Linked DNA regions of Homo sapiens: region 1 is linked to region 2. Evidence: promoter capture Hi-C in human tissues and cell types (Jung and others, 2019). All regions are on one chromosome and are shown on one strand. The core of a region is centred on a gene start or on the middle of the fragment in contact, and the rest is flanking DNA. Distances in the headings are between cores, read along the strand shown.

Region 1 (6,569 bases), core at 573-3,072, 35 kb after region 2:
GTCTGATTAATCTTGGTGTGGGTATCTGTTGATTTCTTTATCATTCATGTTGTGATGTTCCTTGTTGCTGTGATGATTCTTAGTAAATTCTTTGTATGTGTTCTGACAGTTCTTGGTATCATGAGCAATTTTTTATTGTGTCCTAGACATTTTGGATATTTTATTATGTTGCTCAAGATTGATTGAATATTTTTTAGCATGGGGTCCCTTGTTGAGGTATATTGGGATGTCCAGGTGGCCATGTATATTCAGCTTCCTGTTGAGCCAACTTTGTTGAAAATGTATGGAGTGGAAGTTCAGCTCCCCTCTTGAATCTCATGACCTCAGTTGCCTTCAGATGGGGATGTGAGATCATCCCCTCCCCACTGGGCTGAGCTGCCATCAGGAAGGGGGAAGTTGAAAGCTGACCCACATCACTTTGTTGTCACCGGTATGGGATGGAAGGTCAGTTCTCTTCTGGGTGCTAATGACGCCAGGGAAGGAGAGGGGTGAATTAAGTGCCAACTGACCCTCTCTCCTACCACCTCCTTTTTCCTTGTTAATACCGAGTAGGGGTGAAGTCTCAGCTTCCCATTGGGTCCTGCTGATGGGGTGTTGGTGTGAAGCAGGGTGTGACTAGATTTACCTCGCATCTTCTTGCTAGGCCTTGTTGTTGCTGGGTATAGATGGCCACTACTGGACTCCACTAATGCTACCCTGGCACCACCTGCTTTTGCTGGGCAGGAGATAGAAGATCAGCTCCCTACTTGGCCCACCAAGGTGTGCACCAGGTCGGGAACTCAGACACTCCATCTGCTCTGCAAGACAAGAGGTGGAAGGTTAACTCTCCCCTCAGCCTTGCAGAAAGGAATTGGAGTGCCCCCTCCTGCTTTTGCAGGGTTATGGGGTAGAGAGGAAGAGCAATGCCCCACTGAGACTGCAGGAGAGGAAGATGGGTGTGTTTTGCTCTGATGTTTTTCTGTTGTTGGGTGGGTATCTCCAAGAAGGTTTTCTATTGTTAGGCCATCCTTTTCATATCCTCTGGCTCTGAAATCTAACCTGAGTGAGGTCCTACAGGCTCAGGCTGTGCGTTGCATGGAAACATTCTAGGTGGCCAAAGAGGAACCTCTCCTCCTGTGTCAGTTTAGGTTCATTGAGAAGTGGGCACCAAGGTGGGGCTAGATGTGCAGGAGATTTAATGGGAGAAAACACCTGAGAAGCGTAAGTGGGAGGGAGCTGGATTGGTGGGGAGAACCCTCAGAACAAAGGCAGTCAGGTCTGGCTTCCTTGCAAAGAGAGGGGGAGGAAAGGGTTGAGCTGGGAAAGCCTCAGACACAGTACAGTGATGACAAAGTCTGCAGGCAAGTGGGCTCCCAGAGCAGGTCACCTCTTGGGCAGGCATGGCCTGACTCTAGAACCTTGTGAGGCTCAACCATCAGCTAGTAGCAGCCAAGAGATGAGCAGCCTCATGGTGAATGTAATTACCATCACTCTGTTATTCCAAAGGTGTGGCAGCTGGAAGCAGGTAATCTCGAAGGCAACCCTGAGTGGCAATCCTTATGGCCACCACAGTCCACCTCTTGCAACACGCATGTCACTCCCTTGCCCCTATCTCCCAAATGCTGCTTTTAAGTCATCTCAGACAATTTTCAAAGGACTGCAGAGCAGGAGGTGTTGCAGTCTTGTTTTAAGATGGTCTTGGCCGGGCGCGGTGGCTCACGCCTGTAATCCCAGCACTTTGGGAGGCCAAGGCGGGTGGATCACAAGGTCAGGAGTTTGAGGCCAGCCTGGCCAATATGGCGAAACCCTGTCTCTACTAAACACACACACACACACACACACACACACACACACACACACACACACACACACACACAAATTAGCTGGGCATGGTGGTGGGCACCTGTAGTCCCAGCTACTTGGGAGGCTGAGGCAGGAGAATCGCTTGAACCCGGGAGGCGGAGGTTGCAGTGAGCCGAGATTGCACTGCTGCACGCCAGCCTAGGCAACAGAGTGAGACACCATCTCAAATAATAATATTAATAAGAAGAATAAGATGGTCTTGTCAGGAAATCCTTCCATCTCTCCCTCCCTGTGTCTGGCTGTATTGAACACCCAGTCTGTGTGACACACACAGTGTGCACAGTATCAAACAAGCATTACAATGGACACAGCTTTTCTGTCTGAGCCCGGGGTCAAAGCATCCACAGCCTCCCCTCAGTCACCAATTATTGGCTGTCTTATTTTGTATCTGTTCTTCACAGGTATGATTTAAGCTTGGATGAAATGAGAGCTTTGACAGTTCAGAGAGTGAAGTTTGCCATGGACCTGCCTCTGTTAAAACGTGCAGGTCAGGATCTGGTAAGTGTCATTATTATTCTGGTATGGTTGTGTGTGTGTGTGTGTGTGTGAGAGAGAGAGAGAGAGAGAGAGAGTTTTTTTCTCTCCAGCTTTTATTTTATGTTTAGAGGGTATATGTGCAGGTTTGTTACATGGGTAAATTGCGTGTTATGGAGGTTTGATGTACAGAGTATTTCCTCACCCCAGTAGTGGGCACTGAACTCACGATAGGTAGTTTTTTGACCCTCACCCTTCTCCCACCCTCCTCTCTCAAGTAGGCCGCCGCGCCTATTGATTTCTTCTTTGTGTCTGCGTGTACTCAGTGTTTAGCTCTCACTTATAAGTAAGAACGTGCGGTATTTGGTTTTCTGTTCCTATGTTAATTTGCTTAGAGATTTTGTTTTGTTTGCTTTTGTGACTTGCTAAGCCTGTTGATCTCATGCTGAGGGCAGCTGACAGACAGGTCTCGGTGGAGGAGAGTGTCTTCCTCAGGCCCCTTTTCTGCCCCACTCCCACTAACCTAACAAACCCTTTCCTCGGCCCACACATTCACTTCTCCAATCTCACAGGCGAGGGAATAGGAGTATCAGCAGAAGTAATAAAATATTTGTACACAAAACCCATATAATTTTAGGGATAAAGTTAAATAGCTGGGAAATAGAAATAACTCATTTTAAGGGCTTTTAAAGTACTTTAGACTTATCCAAAGTTTATGTCTTATTTGTCTAAAAACTGTCATTCTAAATTTAGTGGTATTATTTTAGTCAATTTAGCCTCATGAAAAAAGAAAGAAAGAAAGAAAGAAAGAAAGAAAGAAAGAAAAAAATACATGATTAGTGAGTTCCTTTGTGTCAGTATTAGGAGTGATGTATTTTAGCCAAGTTCATTCAGCTTCATGGTATATAGGAAAAAATATACCTCAGCAGGGTGTGGTGGCTCACATCTGTAATCCCAGTACTTTGGGAGGCCAAGGTGGGCTGATACTGGGTAGAGCCCAGGAGTTCAAGACTGGCCTGGGCAACATGGTGAAACCCTGTCTCCACAAAAAAAAAAATACAAAACTGGCCAGGCACAGTGGCTCATGCCTGTAATCCTAGCACTTTGGGAGGGAAGCAGGTGGATCACTTGAGGCCAGGAGTTTGAGACCAGCCTGGCCTCAACATGGCGAAACATGGCCTGGGCAACATGGTGAAACACTGTTTCTACTAAAACAAAACAAAACAAAACAAAACAAAACAAAAATTAGCCAGGTGTGGTGGTGCACGCCTGTAGTCCCAGCTACTTGGGAGGCTGAGGCACGAGAATCCCTTGAACCAGGAGGCGGAGGTTGCGGTGAGCTGAGATTGCGCCACTGCACTCCAGCCTGGGCAACAAAGCGAGACTCTGTCTCAAAAAATAAAATAAAATAAAATAAAAAACCCCAAAAACCCCAAAACACTAAACAAATACTAGCCAGGCATGGTGGCCCACACCTGTAGTACCAGCTACTTGGGACGCTGAGGTGGGAGGATCGTTTGAGGCTCCAGAGGTCGAGGCTGCAGTGAGCTATGATCGCACCACCGCACTCCAGCCTGGGCAACCGGAGTGAGACCCTGTCTCAAAATGAACAAACAAACAAACAAAAAACCCAACACCACCCGCCCTCTGAGACCCCCTAAGGGAGGAGCCTGAACTAGGGTAGCTGCAGCTCAGCGGCATGCTGAGGAGCCGACCCTATCCTGCAGCAGCCCAGCCCTTTCCCCACCCAGCATGGTCTGGGAGGGAGAGTCTGAGGACTGAGGGATGGAGTCCTCCCAGTTCAGGAGACCACAGGGGCGCCTTTCTTTGTGGAGCGTAGAATGGAGCTAGTGGGGGCCTGGGATCCATGCTTGAAAGTAGATCCCTCTCCCTTCCCCACAATCCCACCAACCTTTGGTAGGTTGTCTAAGGAGACAAGGACCAATCCTGGAGTCTTCTCAGGAAGGAATTACAGGCAGAGCCTTGGCACCACCTGCGCTGCGATACTGCAGGCACCTCCACGCTGACAAGGGCGCTGCAGTGTCAGCTGAGCTGGAGAACGTGCAGATGGATGTTCACTTGGCACAGGAAAACTCCCATGTGACAAAGTGGAGCGTGCTTGCGAAGCGTAAAAAATCATTTCATACCAAGTAGTTTGGCAGAGATTTTCAAGCTAGGAAATTGCCTCTTGATGGAGCATCCATTTAGAGCTGTGAATACAACCAAAAAAGAAAAAAAACACAAAAACAACCAACCTCTTTGCTGCCAACCACTCTCTCTGTCAGAGTCGCCTCCAAGTGCGTTCGGCATGGGGCTGGTTGGAAGGTGAAATCTTGGCCTGTGGCCAGCTTCTTGCTCCCTTAATCAGCCCAACATGTCTGTGGCTTAACTTAGTGTCAATACTCAAGACCCGGATGTGAGAGCTGATCCCTTAATGAGGCTTGCTAATTGCAGCCCGACCCGCTGAGTCTGAAGGATTAGCCTCTGTAATCTCGCTCCTGATGAAGCGTGTTGAGCTCTGGATCCAATTATCTTCCTGTTTTCCTGGCTCACTTAGTGGCCTTAGGCAGCCTGGACAACTCTCTGTCCTGGGTGATTAGATATAATTCCTCCAGGAGGCACAGGATTGGCCCTAGACCATCCCTCCAGTCATTTCTGTGAATTATCTCGGCCTGTTTGGCACCTCTCTCTGTATGAATTCACAAAAGCCAATAAACCTGAAGGAAATGAAACTGGCCATCAGTGCGGCAGGCTCATCTCGCTGGGCGGATGTCATGAGACTCGGCAGCACATCTGTGTTTGAAGGCTCTCAAATTCCGCCCTGTAAACAGCTGGAGGAGCTGTCCACATCCAGTAATTCTAGAAGTGTTACATGATTCATCCTGCCTCTTAATAAAATGATTGAGTCATGGCTGTCCTGCCTGCTCAGGGAGCATGCCAGGCCCGTCTGTGTTTCCCTGGACCCCCCTTTCATGTTGCTCTCCACTTTTGTGGATGATCCGATGAGCTCTGAGGCAGAACGCGGTGTATAATGTGTAATGATGATGTTCTAGGGGACAAATAAGAAGGGAGTCTCATTCACTCCAGGTCTCTATGGACAGTCCGCAGGCCAAGAATAAACCATTAAAATATTTCCACGCTGTGTTTTCCCCTCTGCCATCTGTAATAGATTTGAGATGTTTCAATAATTTTAAAGCGAAAAAACAATATGAGTCTGATTGCAGAGTGTGCACGCACACACACACAGACACACACACAGTGTGAACACCATCATTGTTCTCTGTGCCAACTTCTCCTGCACCTGTTTCTAGTGACATCACCTTTGTGCACCTCAGCCAAGAGCTCTCTTGTTCCCCTGAAGTTTCCAGAATTGGATCCTGGGCTGGGGGAGTCACCAACTGCCTCTATTTCCAGATGCAGAGACCTTCTGTCTCTAAGACCCAGGTCTTATCATCTACTTTGTGGCAGTGTCTTGTCCTGCATGGGGGACAGCTTCCTCAGAGATGCTCATCCCTGGAAGCTGACAGAGTCTGACAGCCTGCACTGATCTTCACCATAGCAGACAGTGACAGCTCAAGTTGACTGAGTACATGTTCTGGTACAGTCCCAACACTAAGAACTTTAAATAGATGATGTCATTCAGTATTCACAACATCCCTCATGGCATTCCCATTTTACAGATAAGTAAACTGAAGCTGAGTAATTGGCCTGAGGTTAGTTATACAATTAGTGAGTTGTATATATAAATGACTAGTGAACCAGGGATTCAAACCCAGGTGCTCTGCTTCCTGAGCCCACGTCAAACAGGTGGTGCTTGCCCCTGTCTGCACAATAGAAGCAGCCAGACAACTTTCAAAACTCCTGCTGTGAAGGCTTTTGCTCAGGCTAATCAAGTCAGCATTTACATCTCCCAGGTGACCCACTGTGCATCTGGGGTTGCGGACTGCTGCACTATGCCTCCTTTCCTGCACCCTGTCTCCCCAAAATTGTTCCCATTAAGCATTTGGTCCCTACCAATCAGGGCTTGTGGGTGGCTCATAGGGAAACCGCATCTCAACATTACCTTTCCCCAGGAGGGAGCCAGCTGGGATCAGGCTTCTTTCAGCCAAGTGTAGTGTGGGTTGGGGACAGATACCTGGATGATGAAGATCCTACCCCTGACTCCTTCTTCCCCTCCCCCAACCAGCCTACAACCGTTCTCTCTCTCACCCAGAGCTCTGGTTTTTATCCCCATGATCCACACGAGTGAGGGG
Region 2 (6,478 bases), core at 3,926-6,425:
CTTCAATAATAAATTAACCTTAGCTTACTGTAACTTTTTTACTTTACGGTAAGATTACTGTAACTTCCTTACTTTATAAACTTCTATTTTTTTAACTTTTTGACCATTTCATAATAATATTTTAAAACACAAGCACATCAGCTATGCAAAAATATTTTCTTTATATCCTCATCCTGTATTTTTCTATTTTTATAATTTTTTATTTTTCAATTTTTAAGCTTTTTTTTTTTGTTAAAAATGAAGACACAAAGGCACATTAGCCTAGGCCTATACAGGGTCAGGACCATCAATATGATTGTCTTCTACTTCTTTATCCTGTCTCACTAGAGGGTCTTTGGGGCCATAACACTCATGGAACTGTCGTCTCCTAGGATAACACTGTCTTCTTCCGGAATCTTCCTGAAGGACCTGCATGAGGCTGTTTTACAGTTAACTTTTTAAAAAGTAAGTAGGAGTACACTCCAAAATAATGGTTAAAAGTATAGTATAGTAAATACATAAACCAATAACATAATCATTTACTGTTACCATCAAGTATTATGCACTACTGTACATAATTGTATATGTTACACTTTTATACAACTGGTAGTGCAGAAGTTTTGTGTTTTTATTAACCTGGGCTCTATGGATCTGATCACAGTAGTTTGTTGACCAGATCGCCAGAAACAAGTGAGTAATATGTTGGGCTATGACTTTACGACACCAATGATGTCATGCGGTGATAGGAATTTTTCAGCTCCATTATAATCTTACAGGACCAATGTCATATATGCAGTCTGTTGTTGACCAAAACATTGTTATGTGGTGTGTGACTGTACTTGTAAGAGAAAGTCCTGCGTAACACAGATAGTCCAGGGAGCCACATTTTATTCTCTCTCTCTCTCTGTGTATATTTTTCAGACTCATTTGGAGTCAGTTGCCCCTTTACCCCTAACTACTTGAATTTGCTCCTAATGACAAGAACGTTCATTTAAATATCCACAGTACAATAATCAAAACCATAAAGTCAACATTGATACAGTATTATATTATCCATGTTGCTTAAATTTCACCAATTTTCCCAATAATGTAGTAATCCCCTGCGTAGCAAGATCAAGAACCATTGAGCCTAAGCCCATGGGCTGAGCCCTGGCTGCACAATAGTAGAGTCACCTGGGGTGGAGAGGAGCTTTTAAAAACTACAGATGCCTACCTCTAGAAATTGGATCGATTGGCCAAGTCGTGTGTATTTGTGTGTCTGTGTTCATGGTTACTCTGATACACACTTAGTGTGGAAACCATTGATCTAAGCCAGTATATGGTCACTTCCTTTTATTTCTTTCTCATTTGTCAGTTCCCGTTAGTTCTGGGTGGGTATACTGGGTTGAATAGTGTTCCCTAAACGTTCATATCAGAAAGTGACCTTCTTTGAAAATAGGGGTTTTGCAGATGTAATCAAGTTGAGATGAGTCATGTTGGATTAGGGAGGGCACTAAATTCTACAACCAATGTCCTTCAAGAGGAGGGAGATTTGAAGACATAGAGACCCACAGAAAGGAAGGCCATGTGATGATGGGGCAGAGTGTGAAATGATGCTGCTATAAGCCAAGCAATACCAAGGATTGCTGGGAGCCAGCAGAATCTAGAAAAAGGCAAGGAAGGATTCTTCCCTAGAGCCTTCAAAAGTAACAAGGCGCTGCTGAACATTTCAGATTTCTAGCCTCCAAATCTGTGAGATAATTAAATTTCTGCCGTTTACCTAACCAAGTTTCTGGTAATTTGTTACTGTAGGAAAATAATATAGTGGTCAAGGGACCTAGTTAAGCCAAGATGGCCCAAGGGCAATTTTACTGGGTCTTTTGTCAGCTATTCTTTCCTAGTAACAAAAGATTCACAGGAGTGTGGTAGTCTTTAGCGTTGGCTGGTGGGGGCGCCTGGGAGGATTACACTTCTCTGGCTCTTAGAGAGAGGTGTGGCTTGTAAACAGATTCTTGAGGTATCTTCCAGGACAGGCTAGATTACGCTTGACACTTCTGGGTGTACATTTACAAGTCCGTGGGTGATCCAAACCGTGCTCTCATCCTCTGACGCAGAGACCAGTGATGCTTCAGATGGGGGTTGCTCAGATGGACAAGGCCCGGGAGTAAGATGGCTTACTGGGAATCCACAAAACCTATTTGTTACAGGTTTCAAGTGAGACTCTTGATTCTATTCTTGCCACAAGGGGCAAGGGAGTAGAGTCTGAGTTTCCTGAATTTTAATGGGCTTTTGTTACTAAATATTTCTCAGTTTCATCTTTTACTAATAGAAGTCGTGAAGCAGTTGCCTCTCCCAACCCTAAAAGTCCCTGAACTTGTGGACTCTATTCCCTTCCATCCCTGCTTGCAAACTGGTTAATTCTTTTGTAAGCCCATCTCTTTCTTATAATGTCTTGCCAAACACAAGCAAAAGCAGCCAACATGCAATACTAACCTTGTGTTTTCAGCAACTTCTCTTGGAGTGATAAGTTCCAAGTTAGGTCTGTCTCCTGTCAGTGGCAACTTTGTCAAATATTTGCCTCTTCATAAAAGGGACCATTTTCAATTTTGGTCAACAACAATGCTTTGGTCGACAGCATCCTCCTTGCCCCTCCCAGCCTCTAAGCCAATGTACCTATTTTAGTTTTTTATTTAATCAGCAACATTCTTTTAGTATCTTCTATGATTGGCTACGTAACAAATGACCCTCAAAAAAAATCTTAGTGGTTGGCCGGGTGCGGTGGCTCATGCCTGTAAACCCAGCACTTCGGGAGGTCGAGGTGGGTGGATCACAATCACCTGAGGTCAGGAGTTTGAGACCAGCCTGGCCAACATGGTGAAACCGTGTCTCCACTAAAAATACAAAAAATTGCCAGGCTTGGTGGCGGGCACCTGTAATCCCAGCTACTCAGGAGGCTGAGACAGGAGAATCGCTTGAACCCAGGAGGCAGAGGTTGCAGTGAGCCAAGATCATGCCATTGCACTCCAGCCTGGGCAACAAGAGCAAAACTCCACGTCAAGAAACAACAACAACAACAACAAAAATCTTAGTGGCTTCTAAGAACAGAGGCCTTTCTTTTTTCTCACTCAAGCAAACACTCACTTGGAAGTTAACTTAGTAACCTATCTTTTCAGTTTATAGGTCTCCGGATCAAGAGGAGCCACATCCTGACTTGATGCAAGGACCACTCTGTATCCCCCAGGGGCCTCAGACTTGATGTTGTGGAGGTGTGGGGCTTTGGCTGCTTCCCTGGAAGGATGGAGAGTATATTTTGCCTGTGGAAGGGAGAGTGTGACCAGAAGGGCAGATTGAATAGTCACTAGCTCTGCTTACAGATGATTTTGGGTGTTGACCTCCTGGGCATGTCCAGGGTGGTACCTCCCTTCCCCCATCGAGACAGGAGTGAGCTGCTTTGTCCAGTGGATTGTGAGTAGAAGTTATGTGTGTCTCTTCCAGCTGGAAGCTTTAAAAGCCAGTGTGGCCACACAATCATGGCTGTTCTGTCAGCCAGGACCTGGACCGAGGGGACATGGAACAGAACCCCCAGGTAGCATGAGTGAGAAATAAACTCTTGTCTTTTTAGGCCCTAAGATTTGAGGAAGTGTATGTGAAGTCGTTTCGGGGTTGTTTGTTACCACTACACTATTTTGGCTGATATAGAAGGAAATACTCCTCTTCTGCTTTGCACAGGGTGGTGCTTGGAGCTGCAGCATCCATCTTACAACTGGTAGAAGACAAGTTAAAAAAAAAAAGGTAACGATTACATATAGAGAAAGGATGGCGGATGGTGGAGCAGAAAGATGCAAAGGACCTGGGTCCCCAGGGTAGAGCCATCAAATTCACCCCTGGGGCTTTCCTACCACCAAGCTTCCTGTGATGTGAGAAAACAAAGCCCCTTTTATCATGGATGACTGGGTATTATTACTCGCAGCTGCACAGGTGTGGTAGACAGAGGAATGACTCGCCAAAGGTGCTCATGTTTTAATCCCTAGTACCGGAGAGTGTGTTTCTGATATGGCAAAATGGACATTGCTGGTGTGATTAAAGTATGGATCTTGTGGTGGGAAGATTATTCCCATTGACCATGGATTATTCCCATGGGTCCCATGTAAACAAGTCCAAGGGAGGCAAGAAGGTCAAAGTCAGTAGAAGATGGAACGATGAAAGCAGAGCTTGAAGTGATGCATTTTGAAGACAGACGAAGGGGCCAGGAGCTAAGAAATGCAGGCAGCCTCTAGGAGCTAGTAAAGACAAGGAAATGCATTTTTCCCTGGAGCTGTGAGAAGGAACCCAGCTCTGCCAACACCTTGATTTTAACCCTGTAAGTCCTATTTTGGACTTCTGACTTCCAGAAATGTAAGAGAATAAATTGGTGCTATCTTAAGCCACTCACTTTGTGGGAATTTGTTACTGGAAACGAATACAGATGGCATCCACTAACCTCACGACAGCAGACCACACCATCATCTCCCCAGCAAAGTAGCCTCTGGAAGGGAACGGCTAACATTTCCTTGAGTATTTAAAAGGAGAATCAACAAGGTATATGAGAATTAGGGAGCAGAAAGGAAGGAACATTTTCCACTTAGGTTATAACTCATTTTCCTCCAGCCACAACAAAAAAAGGAGTGTCCTGGGAAATGAGTATCGTGTTCCGGTCGATCACCTCGTCATGAATGCAGCTTCCAGCTACCCTGGACTGCAGTGCTGTAGACCTGGGACGCCTTTAGATTACCGTGATATTAGAGTTCACAGTAATGCCCAGTGCGGGGAAGAGGTGAGATACAGCTGAGGAGGGGCCAGAGCTGGAGCCAGGCTATCTTGGGTCGTGGGGGTCAGGCAAAGTGGCTGGCCGGGAGATCTGCTGAGTGGGTCAGCCGGTCAGTCCTGAGCAGCCGGGCCTCTGGTGCCCAGGTCCACGTGACTGGCACCCTTTCTAGGGGTCTAGTACTTGTTTCTTACGGCTCACAAATCTTGAGGGACAGTTGATAACTGGAGGGTAGAGTTTTCGCTTCCTCGGAAGGGCAAGGGGAGGCCACCGTAGAAGCGCCCGCTCGCGCCGGACCTCCCGCCCGGGAAGCCAGGGCAGGGCGGGGCCGGGGAGGGAGGGGAGAGGAAGGTGAGGAGGGAGGAGACGGGCCGGGAGGGGTGGAGAGGGAGAGGGCGTGCGCCTGGGGCCTCACCTGCTGGGAGCTGGAGGAGGCGCGGAGCGAAGCCGGCCCTGCCAGCCACGCGGAGAAGCAGAGGCAGGTGAGCGCGATGCAGCCGGCGCCGGGTCTGGGGCTCGGGGACTCCTCCCTGCACCGCTACCTGGACGGCGACTTCTGGAGCCTCAAGAACGAGCTGCGCGGACTCCTCGGCGGCGCCCGCTCTTCCGGCAAAGGTACCGCGCTGCGGCCGTCGCCCCTGCCCGCGCCCCCGAAGCCGCCGAGCGTGTCCCCTCGGTCCCCGGAGCGTCGCTGCGGACAACGCCCTGGCGAGGGCGAGGTGGGGTGTGCGCCGCGCCTGAGAGGCGGGTCCCTGCCTCGCCGCAGGTGACGGGCTCCCCTCCCCAGGTGTGTGGGCGCAGCCGGCCGCCGCCGACCTCTTCGGCCCCCTGAGAGGTGCCCTCTCCTCCCGAGCTCCCTCCCCCACGAAGAGTCGGGTGCAGGGCTGGGCCCCGCGGTGACAGGCGCGGTGTCTACGAAGACCGTGTGGCTGGAAGATCGGCCTTGCTGGTTTGTTGAACCTGTTTCTTGAGTCCCCGCCCCGCGATGTCCCACCCTTGGTGGGGAGAAGGGGACAGAAAACCGCGATGGGATGGGCGCACAGGGATGGAGTGGCCCTGTCCAGGGCGTGTCTGGGCGTCGGGGTGGGACAGGCTTACAGGACCCCCTCGGAGTGCAGGTGTGCGGAATGGGCAGCTTCAGCGGGGCGGTTTGGTTATAAGAAGAACTCAGGTCCTCGATGTCATCCGATGCCAGGACAGCCCTGAGAAGCAGGCAGAGGGTTGAGTGCTTGAGCTGCACTGGAGATAGAGAGATGGTTCAGTCACCGGACAGTCAGGACCAGAACTCGGCATTCGTGTCTCCTGTGGGCTCTCTTTCTCATACCCATTTCAAGCAGTCTGAAAAGCCCAGTTGGAGGCATGCTTTGGAGTTCTAGCTTAAGAAAGGCCCTATTAAAAATGTCAGTATGTGCCCGTGGAGGATTAATTGGTTAGCCATGCCCACTTAGCCCTCGTTTAATTTATTTTGCGGAAATGAGAGGGAAGGAGATGGCTTGAGTGAACGTCAGGCTGTCCTTGGAGAATCTGGGGTTCCTGCACTGAGGTTACCTAGTGGGGAGTTGGGGGCGTTTGAAAGTTGAAAAGTGAGAAGTGTGGGATGGTGGGTATATCCATCAGTGTCTCGCCGACTTCTCTTTCCCTCTCTCTCATACATAGTTCTTTAAGTTATGGTTCTCAAAGTGTGGTACAGGGAGCCCTGGGGGGACCCAAGAGCAT

The links. The method cuts DNA at HindIII sites, captures the fragments that hold promoters and counts their contacts. A contact is called where the count stands out against the background at its distance.
Region 1: a fragment that was not itself captured here is called in contact with the fragment with the promoter of ACOXL in region 2 in 1 of the 25 tissues and cell types used here (H1 embryonic stem cells).

Annotation. Positions count from the first base shown.
Region 1 is chr2:110,766,125-110,772,693 of GRCh38, forward strand. ACOXL (acyl-CoA oxidase like) reads left to right here. Exons shown (of 18, transcript NM_001142807.4): 2 at 2,244-2,340. The coding sequence starts at 2,266. Among named protein-coding and RNA genes, the nearest start is that of ACOXL, 37 kb to the left of the region's middle. RefSeq lists an enhancer at 6,005-6,506. The HindIII fragment of the contact is 7,624 bases long and covers 1-5,634 here.
Region 2 is chr2:110,727,398-110,733,875 of GRCh38, forward strand. It overlaps ACOXL (acyl-CoA oxidase like), which reads left to right and starts at 5,176. Exons shown (of 18, transcript NM_001142807.4): 1 at 5,176-5,377. LOC124906064 (a long non-coding RNA gene) reads right to left here and starts at 5,028. Exons shown (of 3, transcript XR_007087181.1): 1 at 4,957-5,028; 2 at 4,439-4,507; 3 at 3,964-4,238. The HindIII fragment of the contact is 4,333 bases long and covers 3,663-6,478 here.